Linked DNA regions of Homo sapiens: regions 1 and 3 are each linked to region 2. Evidence: promoter capture Hi-C in 16 types of primary human blood cells and fetal thymus (Javierre and others, 2016). All regions are on one chromosome and are shown on one strand. Each heading gives the region's core, a stretch centred on a gene start or on the middle of the fragment in contact. The rest is flanking DNA. Distances are from core to core; before and after follow the strand shown.

What was found. The method cuts DNA at HindIII sites, captures the fragments that hold promoters and counts their contacts. A CHiCAGO score of 5 or more calls a contact.
Region 1: a contact is called between the fragment with the promoter of WFDC8 here and a fragment that was not itself captured in region 2, in 3 of 17 cell types (M0 macrophages, M2 macrophages and M1 macrophages). The highest score is 10.6, in M0 macrophages.
Region 3: a contact is called between the fragment with the promoter of WFDC10A here and a fragment that was not itself captured in region 2, in 3 of 17 cell types (M2 macrophages, M0 macrophages and megakaryocytes). The highest score is 7.3, in M2 macrophages.

The regions. Positions count from the first base shown.
Region 1 is chr20:45,577,539-45,580,815 of GRCh38, reverse strand. WFDC8 (WAP four-disulfide core domain 8) reads left to right here and starts at 1,532. Exons shown (of 6, transcript NM_130896.3): 1 at 1,532-1,594. The coding sequence starts at 1,569. RefSeq lists an enhancer at 1,782-2,717. The HindIII fragment of the contact is 6,723 bases long and covers 1-3,277 here.
Region 2 is chr20:45,766,410-45,769,703 of GRCh38, reverse strand. It overlaps LOC124904915 (a long non-coding RNA gene), which reads right to left. Exons shown (of 2, transcript XR_007067610.1): 2 at 2,124-3,294. Among named protein-coding and RNA genes, the nearest start is that of WFDC3, 24 kb to the left of the region's middle. RefSeq lists an enhancer at 3,107-3,294. The HindIII fragment of the contact is 5,957 bases long and covers 1-3,294 here.
Region 3 is chr20:45,627,319-45,631,010 of GRCh38, reverse strand. WFDC10A (WAP four-disulfide core domain 10A) reads right to left here and starts at 1,272. Exons shown (of 2, transcript NM_080753.3): 1 at 1,107-1,272; 2 at 1-141. The coding sequence starts at 1,197. All of the region lies in intron 1 of WFDC9 (WAP four-disulfide core domain 9), which reads left to right. The HindIII fragment of the contact is 11,361 bases long and covers 1-3,027 here.

The DNA.
Region 1 (3,277 bases), core at 283-2,782, 190 kb after region 2:
ATGTTCATAATACATATAACTGAGGAAAGACATGACTCCAGTAGAAATCAGCAAGAAAAAGTCAGAAAACCCCAGAGAACAATGAGCAAAACATTTGAAAAGAAAATCAAAGAGAGGATAGCCAAGTGGTTAATAAAGATCTAAAAAGGTGCTCAACCTCATTAGTAGTCAAGAAATTTAAATTAAGTCCACAGTGATGTATTTCCATACTCGTAGCAGGATGGTAAAAATGAAAAGATTGTGACAGTTCTACATACAGCATGGTTATGGAACAATAGGAACTCTCAACTACCAATGGCAAGGCTGTGAATTGGTACAAACTCTTTGGGAAATAATTTGGTATCAGCTTGAGAAGCTGAAGATATGCATACCCTGTAACCCATCATTCCCTATGCTGAATGTATAACCTACAAGAACACCTGCCCACGTGCTCCAGCAAATGCACACAGAGTGTTCATAGCAGCTTTATTCTTTTTTTTACATGAGTAAATTGTTTAAAATTTTTTTGACATTTAAAAACATTTATTAATTCATTTAACGTAATAAACTTATTACATGTTGATATAAATAACATTTTTATTTAGAAAATCCTAGTTTTTTATTATACTTTAAGTTCTGGGATACACGTGCAGAACGTTATTACATACATGCTATGTATACACACAGCAGCTTTATTCTTAACAGCTGCAAACTATAAACAACTCAGTAGAGATGTGTGTAGTCATACAATAGATGGCATGGCAATGAAAATTGACAAAATACAGCTACACAAAACAATGTGGATGGAATTCATTAATATAATGTTGAACACAAAAAGCCAGGCACAAAAGAATACATTCCAAGTGACTCCATTGATATAGAACAGAAGCAGACAAAAACAAAAACATATTTAGGGGAATACATATGATCTTGAAAATATGAAAAAGAAAGTCACTACCATTAGCTGCCTTTGAGAGCATAGGAAGGGGTTGTGACTGGAAAAGAATGAAAAAGGAGCAGAAAGTGTTGGAAATTTTTTACTTGATTTCAGTGATAGTTTAATGAGTGGTCACTTCGTAATAGTTCGTTAGACTGAACATTAATGTTTCATGCATATTTTTATTTTTGTGGTGTTTTTCACAATACATATTTTTACAAAAAGGAAAAGTAGCTCTTCCTTGTTTTGTCTCCTTTTCTTTACTAACTGAACTAGTCAGTCCTAAAGCCATTAGATAGGCACATTTAGCAAGGTAGGCGTTTGCCCCAAGGGGAAGGGAGCCACGGCTGGCTCCGTGTGGGCATCAGAGCTGGAACAGGTCAAGGAGGGTGTCTCTGTAGGAGGGCTGCTGGCCTGGTGTGCTGGAGCCAGGGGTAGATGAGAATGCCCAGTGAAGAGGCAAGAAGCAGCATAGCATGGAGACCAGCCTGCCCATGTTGAGAAAGGCATCCCCCTGGGGCTAGAGGGGCAGACTGGCATAGAATGAGAGCCTGAGTGGGGTGAGCAGAGTGTCCAGGCAGGGGAGCAGATGAGGGAGGAGCCTTAGAGCTGGAGCAAAGTGAGGAAGCTGTCTCCATAGGGAAGAGGCCTGATGTGGACTGTCCGAACTGAAGGAGGGTGAGGAGGGTGTCTATGGGGGTGGGTAGCCAGACATGGAGGGTCTGAGCCCAAGGAGATGAGGAGGATACATAGAAGTTAGAGTGGTCGGCTGTGGGGAGTTGGGCCAAGCATAGTGAGGAGGGGTTCCACAGAACAGAGCTGTCTTGTGTCAGGAATCAGAGCCTAAGCAGGGTGAAGAGGGCATCAATGCATCCAGCGATTCTCCTGCCTTAGCCTCCCTAGTAGCTGGGACTACAGGTGTGCGCCACCACGCTCGGCTAAGTTTTGCATTTTTAGTAGAGACGGGGTTTCACCATGTTGGCCAGGCTGGTCTCGAATGCAACCTGATATGGCTGTTGGAGCCCAAGTAGGGTAAGTTGGGCATCTTTGAGTGGCCCAGTGTGGAGGGGCAGAGCCTGAGCAAGGTAAAGTTTGATATTTTAAATTAAACAAGCATATAATATGTATCTAAACATTTTCAAAAAATTAAAACAGGAGTAGTAGTGATGGGTTATATTATTATTCACAACTATTCATTCCATCTTTCCTTTAAGAGGACACTCCTGTCCATTACCTTGCAATTTTAGAACGGCCCGTGGAAGGAAGACACATTTCTGTCTCATTGACTTTGGGTTTGCTGTCAGCTGTGCTTTGCCTATTGGAGTATGAGCAGATGTAGCATATGCATAGTGAGTTTTGCACTGTGAGTTTCTGCCAGCTCCTTTGTGCTTTCTCTCTGCCAGGAGAAGGGGCCTAATCCACATAGAGGCTGCTTCTTTTGTCTTGGTCCCACAGCCTCAAGTAGAGCCCCCACTTGGAACAAAGCAGTAGACAATTTGCCTAGGAAGTCTTTTGTTGTGGCAAGCCATGGAGAGCTCAAAGTTCTTTGTACACCAAAGTAATAAAAATACAGTTGATTCCCATTACTTGGGGGTAGTTATGTTCTGTAAAGTCACTGTGAACACCGGATTAGCAAATACTGAGCCATTGCTCCTAGGGAAAATGCAAGCCTCTGACCACACATTTTCATCATTTGATCAATACATAACCTTGTTTTTATATGTGCTTCTGTCTGAAGACACATGACAGAGATGGTAATTAGAAGGTGCACACAGAAGACTTCTGGGAAGCTGGCTACTTTCTATTTTTTAATCTGTGTGGTTAATTATTAAATAAAACTCTACATACTTTATTTATTTATTTATTTTTATTTTTATTTTTTTTGTTTTGTTTGAGAGGGAATCTCTCTCTGTCCCCCAGGCTGGAGCATAGTGGTGTGATCTCGGCTCTCTGCAACCTCCACCTTCTGGGTTCAAGGGATCCTCCTGCCTTAGCCTCCTGAGTAGCTGGGACTACAGGTGTGCACCACCACTCCAGGCTAATTTTTGTATTTTTAGTAGAGACAGGGTTTCACCGTGTTGGCCAGGCTAGTCTTGAACTCCTGACCACAGGTGATCTGCCTGCCTCAGCCTCCCAAAGTGCTGGGATTACAGGCATGAGCCACCGTGCTGGCCCTGTCTTTATTTTTTAAACATGTATATAGGCCAGGCGCGGTGGCTCATGCCTGTAATCCCAGCACTTTGGGAGGCTGAGGCAGGCGGATCACTAGGTCAGGAGATTGAGACCATCCTGGCCAACACAGTGAAACCTCATCTCTACTAAAAATACAAAAAATTAGCAGGACGTGGTGGTGGGTGCCTG
Region 2 (3,294 bases), core at 179-2,678:
GCCACTGCACCTGGCTGTTTTATAGTATTAAGTTCCTCCTTGAGTCTTGTTTGGAAGCAGGTGAGGGCAAAGGTAAATGAGAGGTAAGTTCCAGTAGAATACTTGGGCAGAAAGAAGCATCCAGAGCAGCACTCTTTCACAGAAACATAATGCAAGCCATGTATGTAATTTCAAGTTTTTTAGTAGCCACATTAAAAAACTAAACAGTGGTCTGGGCACAGTGGCTCATGCCTGTAATCTCAGCACTTTGGGAGACTGAGGTGGGAGGACTGCTTGAGCTCAGGAGTTCAAGACCAGCCTGAGCAACATAGCAAAATCTTGTCTCTACTTAAAAAAAAAAAAAAAAAGTCAGTCAGGTGTAGTGACATGTGCTTATAGTCCCAGCTACTTGGGAGGCTGAGGTGGGAGGATCACTGGAGCTCAGGAGATTGAGGCTGCAGGGGGCTATGATTGTGCCACTGCACTCTGGCCTGGGCAACAGAGCAAGACCCCGTCTCAAAAAAAAAAAAACCCTAAAAAGTTTGATGGTTTCTCAATAAGTTAAATGTGGAATTACCATATGACCCAGCAATTTCACTCTTAGGTATATACCCAAAAGAACTAAAAACAGGTATCCAATGGCCAAGTGTGATGGCTCACACCTGTAACCCCAGTACTTTGGGAAGCTGGGGTGGAAGGATCGCTTGAGAACATGAGTTTAACACCAGCCTGGGCAACATAGTGAGACCCTTGTCTCTACAGAAAAATTAAAAAAATAACCAGGGTGTGGTGGCATCATAACTGTAGTTCTAGCTACTCAAGAGGCTGAGGTGGGAGGATTAGTTGAGCCCAGGAATACAAGGCTGCAGTGAGCTAAGAAGGTGCCACTGCACTCCTGCCTAGGTGACAGACCCTATCTCTGAAAAAACAAAAAACAAAAAACAAAAAACCCAAACCAAAACCAAACAAACAAAACCCCTAGATGTTCAAGCAAAAACTTGTGAACAAATGTTCATAGAAATAGAAACAGGTGGACAATAGCCAACAGGTGGAAGCAACTCAAATATCTATCAACTGGTGAATGGAGAGACAAAATGTGGTATATCAATACAATGAAATATTAATTCAGCCATAAAAAGGAATGAAGTACCAATACATTCTATAACATGAATGGACCTTGAAAACATGCTAAGTGACAGAAGCCAGTCACAAAAGGCCATATAATTCCATTTATATGGAACATCTAGAATAGGCAAATTCGTAGAGACAGAAGTACATTAGTGGTTGCCAGGGGCTGGTTTTAGATCCTTGCACGGGCTGGTCAATGTGCAGATTCCCCAATCCCATTCCAGATATTTTGATTCAGTAGGTCAAAGATGGGTTGGGCCAAGGGAACTGCTTGTTTATGTGTTTATTCAGAGCAATATTTAAAAAAAGCCCTCAGGGAATTCTAATGTGTGGTCTGGTTTGGGGATCTCTGAATTAGAAGTTCATGAAAGTCCCATCAGCAGCTCTAAGAATCTGTAGCCCAATTCAGTAATTTTTTTTTTTTTTTTTGAGACAGAGACTTGTCGCCCAGGCTGGAGTGCAATGGTGTGCTCTTGGCTCATTGCAACCTCTGCTCCCTGGGTTCAAGCAATTCTCCAGCCTTGGCCTCACAAGTAGCTGGGATTACACCCACCATTAGCCACCACGCCCAGCTAATTTTTGTATTTTTAGTAGAGACAGGGTTTCACCATGTTGGCCAGGCTGGTCTCGAACGCCTGACCTTAAATGATCCACCAGCCTCGGCCTCCCAAAGTGCTGGGATTACAGGCGTGAGCCACTGTGCCTGGCCCAATTTAGTAATATTATTAATGATCATTCTTCCTTTACCTTTCTCTTGTTTTTCTTTTTCAGCTTTCCTGCAATTTCTGAGCTGTCTATATGCTTAGGATCACAAGTCTTTTTTGTTATTCTTTTTCTCCTCCTCACCTTCCTCCTTCTCCTTTTTATTTTTTAATTTGTTGTTGTTGTTTTTAAAATAGGATGCATAAACATTATTGCGATATTTAAACAGTACAGAAAAGTTCAAAGAAGTGTGAATGATGTAAAAGAATATTTATGTACACTGAAGAAGCAATGAAAAAAATTGCTATCTGAAAGATGATTGAAGAGGTTTTATTTTTTTCCTTTCAACTTGTATTTTACTTTAAAGGGATTCATATGCAGGTTTGTTACACGCACTAATTGTGTGTCTTGGGGATTTGGTGTACAGAAAATTTTGTCACCCAGGTAATCAGCATAATATCAGATAGGTAGTTTTTCAATCTTCACTCTCCTATTGCCCTCCACCCTAAGTAGGCCCCAGCGTTTATCATTCCCTGGTGATGACATTTGAAACCATCAAGATCGCTAATGCACCAAAAAAAAAAAAAAAAAAATTCAAAGAAGATCTCCCTACCCATAGGTGACCATTGTTAACATGCTTGTGAAGGTCCTTCCAGACTTGCTTTATGCATATATGCAAATGTCGATATAGGTAGAATCATCCTGTAATAGGCTTTTGTCATTCAACAATATAATAGATAGATATGATTTTTAATTGTTAAGGTATTCAATGTTTAAATATTTACTTATTTATTAATTTAACATGGCTCTGGAACTCTGTAGCTATTGCTTGCCCTGTTTTCCATGATCTTTGCCAAATGGCTTCAAACGCTTTTACATTCTTTCTTTTTTTTTTTCTGAGACAGGGTCTTACTCTGTCACCCAGGCTGGAGTGCAGTGGCTCAAACACGGCCCACTGCTGCCTCGACTTCCTGGGCTCAAGCAATCCTTCTACCTCAGCCTCCGAAGTAGCTGGGACCACAGGCATGCACCACCACACCTGGCTATTTTTTTCAGTTTTTGTAGAGATGGGGTCTCGCTATGTTTCCCAGGCTAAGGTTTTTACTTTCAATCTTAGTTTGGTTAAACCAGCAGGTGTATTCGATGACAAAGCCTCCATTCCTTCTGCAACACTTTTCGGCTTGCAGATAGATTGCTATTTCTTGATATATATATCAAGAAATATATATATGTATTCTTGGTTTTAATTTTTAGGTTCTTCCATTGTGCTGTACTTCATTGTATAGGTTACATCTTTCCATGTTCAATACTTTCCCAGTTTTAATATTTTTTTCCTTTAAACATAGGCTTCTCATTCCAGTACTCTCTCACCTGAGGCCAGATAATATAAACAACTCAATCTCTTCTCTCTCGTTTTCCTCTTCCTTCTTAGCACTGAAACTCAAAACCAGAGCAAACCTGCCCCACCTGATGGCCCAGAACATC
Region 3 (3,692 bases), core at 23-2,522, 140 kb after region 2:
TGCTCATGCAAACATTCCCACAGTAGGTAGAACAGCATATGTTATTTGCTTGACAATCTCGGTGAGATTCACATAAGTGTTTGCATAGATATAGTTTAGGCTGCTGCTGGCAGACTTTGATTTCTGGGGATAGCTGTGTTTCTGACAAGGAGAATAGAACGGTAAATAAACGCAGTTTCCTAGAGAACATTTTTCTCAAGCTGAAGCCTCCTCCAAGACCCTTGAACCCAGGTCTCAGTCATGATACTCCTGGATTCCTTCTTCATAGAACTACCTTCCTGCCCATCACCAAATCCTAGTGATTGGTCATATTTTAAATCCTGTCTCTCCACTGTACACCTTACCCCATTAGACCACAATGCCTGGGCTTCCTGGACCTTCTCCACACACCAGCAATCAGAACTCCATCTCCCTTACTAGTCATGGCCTTGGTGAAGTCACCACCAAAGAATCTACAGTCTGATCCTGAGAGCTCAAAGAAGCATGAGACATCTTTCAAACTCTCTCCTAGTCTCTGAATAGTAGAATTCAGAGATGAGGATCAACATGCCTCTTGTCTCTCCCTCTCTTCTGCTCACTGTCACTGTCTCTAGTCTTCCTGCCCCTTCTTTAGTTCCCTTTCCACCACCACTCTCCTTGCCCCTTTGATGATAACCTTAACTTGGCTCTGTGTACCCCAACTTTTGCTTGTCTTATGTCCTATTTCCCTACACTTATACCCATTCTACACCTACACCTACCGTCATAACCACTTCTGAATCTTTACTCCTCACAAATGTGCATAAATCAAATAATAATTGTCTTGCTTTCCCCACTGGATTCTCAGCCCTGGTGCGCCTTTCACTATGGGATGTGCCATTTCTCTCTAAGTATTGAGAAGGAACAGCAAAATATGCAGGTTTCTTCTTCATTCCCATTACTATTCCCAGGGCCAGCTAAGGGGCTGGAGGGCCATGGTTTAGGGACAGTCCAGAGTCTACACAACATTGTGGTCAGAGCTGGATATGCAGAGAGTTTCCAACTCCTAGGTCCTACTCAGACTGGACACAGGCCCTCCATTCCCCCTACCCAATTCCCCCTCACCCATCCAGCAGCCCATCACCTACTCTGCATCCTCTTCTTGTCACGGTATCCTCCCTGGGCCTGCAGCAGCAGCACACAGAGAACCAGGACAGGCAGCAGAGTCTGGGGTGCCATGACTCTGATCAGATCGTGAGCCCTATGTCTGGCCAGGTTGTCACAGACTTCCCTGCAGAGCTGTCTACGGAGAGTGAAGGAAGGAAAGAAGGAATGATCTTTAGCTCCTCACTGCCTCTACTGGCCAAGTCGGAGCAGAGCAAGAGAGTCCTTCCTCTTTTTGCTTGCCCCTGGCCTTGTCGTTCGTCATGTGGGATAGGGCTTCCGCAGGAATGACGCCTCCTCCTTTCACATAACCAGTCTTGTGTTCTTGCCGATAGAATGAAAGATATCATTTATTTCTGCTTTCTAATTACAAAATGTTTTATGGAAAAAAGAAAAGAAAAAATATATTGTTAAAAAGAGTTGCTTAGAATTAACTGATGTTTCATTGCATTATCTTTTAGTTTCTCTCCATATTTAATATAAACAATCCTTTTAATATAAACAACTTTTGTTATCTATTTTTGCCACCCTTATTTAATCATGTAAGTATTTCTCAAAATGTGGATTTTCATAATTGCACAGCTCTCAAATGCTAATAATCAAGTATTTGTATTGTACTAATTACTAATAATCTAGAGAATGTCATATTATTTTTATTTATAAATCTTTGATTTCTTTAGACTAAGAGAGCTAGAATTCCTGAGTGAAAGAGTAAGTAGCTGTTTCATATATAAATGTATATAAACACATACACAGATATACATATACAAATTTAAACACACATAAACACACAGAAAGAGAGACTATTGTAGGGCATGGGACAGAAGGGCTAGTGGAGAAACATAGTAAATATCTTAGAGCTCAGACAGGGGGAGAGACCTATCAGTCAAAGGCTTGGCAGGCTGTCCAGGAGGAGGTGGTCACTGACCTTGAATATCATGAAGGAAATGAACTCTCAGAAGTGAAGATGTTTCTTCTTCCCTAACAGGAGAAAGAGGGGACAACCTAGGGTCACTGGACTCCCAGTAGGCATGCAAGCTGGGAAGAAGATCACCCTCTTCCTCTGATGATGATAATCTTCTAAAGATTTGAACCTCTTTCTGACATTCTGAACTCCTAATGCAGACTCCTTCAGTCCACAGTTGTAATTTACATTCAAAGGAAGCTCTCTAGCCTTTCCCCCATATCTCACCTTATGCACCTTCCTCTGTATCCTTTGCGATATCCTTTATAATTCAAAAATTCTGATATTTGTACCTATAGTTTACAGAGTGGTATTTGACCCTTCCCAAAGGCTCTCTCTTTCCTAGTTTTTCTTTTTGTCCACTCATAAATGAACAATTTAGAGACTGGACACTGTCATAACTATCCTAGCAAAGAGGGGTTATATAGAGGAGAATCATCATCTCAAATAGAAGCTGCATTTTCCTTACCCAAGCATCTTGCAGCCAGTGCCACAATGTAAATATTTTGGCTAACAGACTTGTCACTACTAGGTCAAGACCCTAAGAAGATGGCAAGTCTCTTTCACACTCTTTTTCTTTTCCACCAGCTCAGTATAGATGACAACAAGGTTCTAGAGCCTAGTGAAGCCAAAAGGTGAAAGGAGCCTGGGTCCTTGACTTCTTTTATCACATGAAAAAAGGATACCCATTGTTTTAGAATACTCATTTTGAATTATTATTTGAGCAAGAAATAAAAAGTATATTGTATTTCAGTTATTATGTGATGGAGGCTTTCTGTTAAAGCAGTCTAGTCAACATTGTGGCAGGCTCAAGTACTGACATTTATAAGGGGAAAGATTTATGGGTATATAGAAGGTCTATACTTTATACATTCAAATTATTGATAGAGTAGTAAATTTAGTAAAGAGATGGGTAATTTGAACATTATGATTAATAAGCTTGACTTAATTAAAATATACAGAAGTCTGCATAGAAAAACTAGAGGAACACATTTTTCTCAAGCACAAATAAAACATGTACAAAAAGTGACTATACATTAGGCTATAAAAAAAGTCTGAACAAAATTTTAAAGAATTACATCACAAAGGACATAGTTTCAGACTATAATGGAAATAATTAGAAATTAGTCTAAAAAAAGACAATTACTCAAAACTGAACAGAAATTTCAAATTAAAATATATAAGTCAGAGCTTCCAGGTGGCTACCACTGAACACTTAGAGGTTGTTGGAGAGCAGCATGCTCATGGAGGGCATGGAAGCTCTCTAGCCTTTCCCCATATCTCACCTTATGCACCTCTTCCTCTGTATCCTTTGTGATATCCTTTATAATTCAAAAACCTAGAGGAAATGGATAAATTCTTGAACACATACAACCTACCACACTGAACCAAAAAGAAACAGAAGAACCTGAACAGACGAATAACAAGTAAGGAGATTGAATCAGTAATAAAAAGTCTCCCCTGAAACAAAAGTCCAGAACCATATGGCTTTACCACCAAATTCTATGACCCTTTAAATATAAATTAATACCAATTCTTCTCAAACTATTCCAAAAAATTGATGCGGCAGGAATTCTTCTTAGCTCAATTTTATGAGGCCCACATA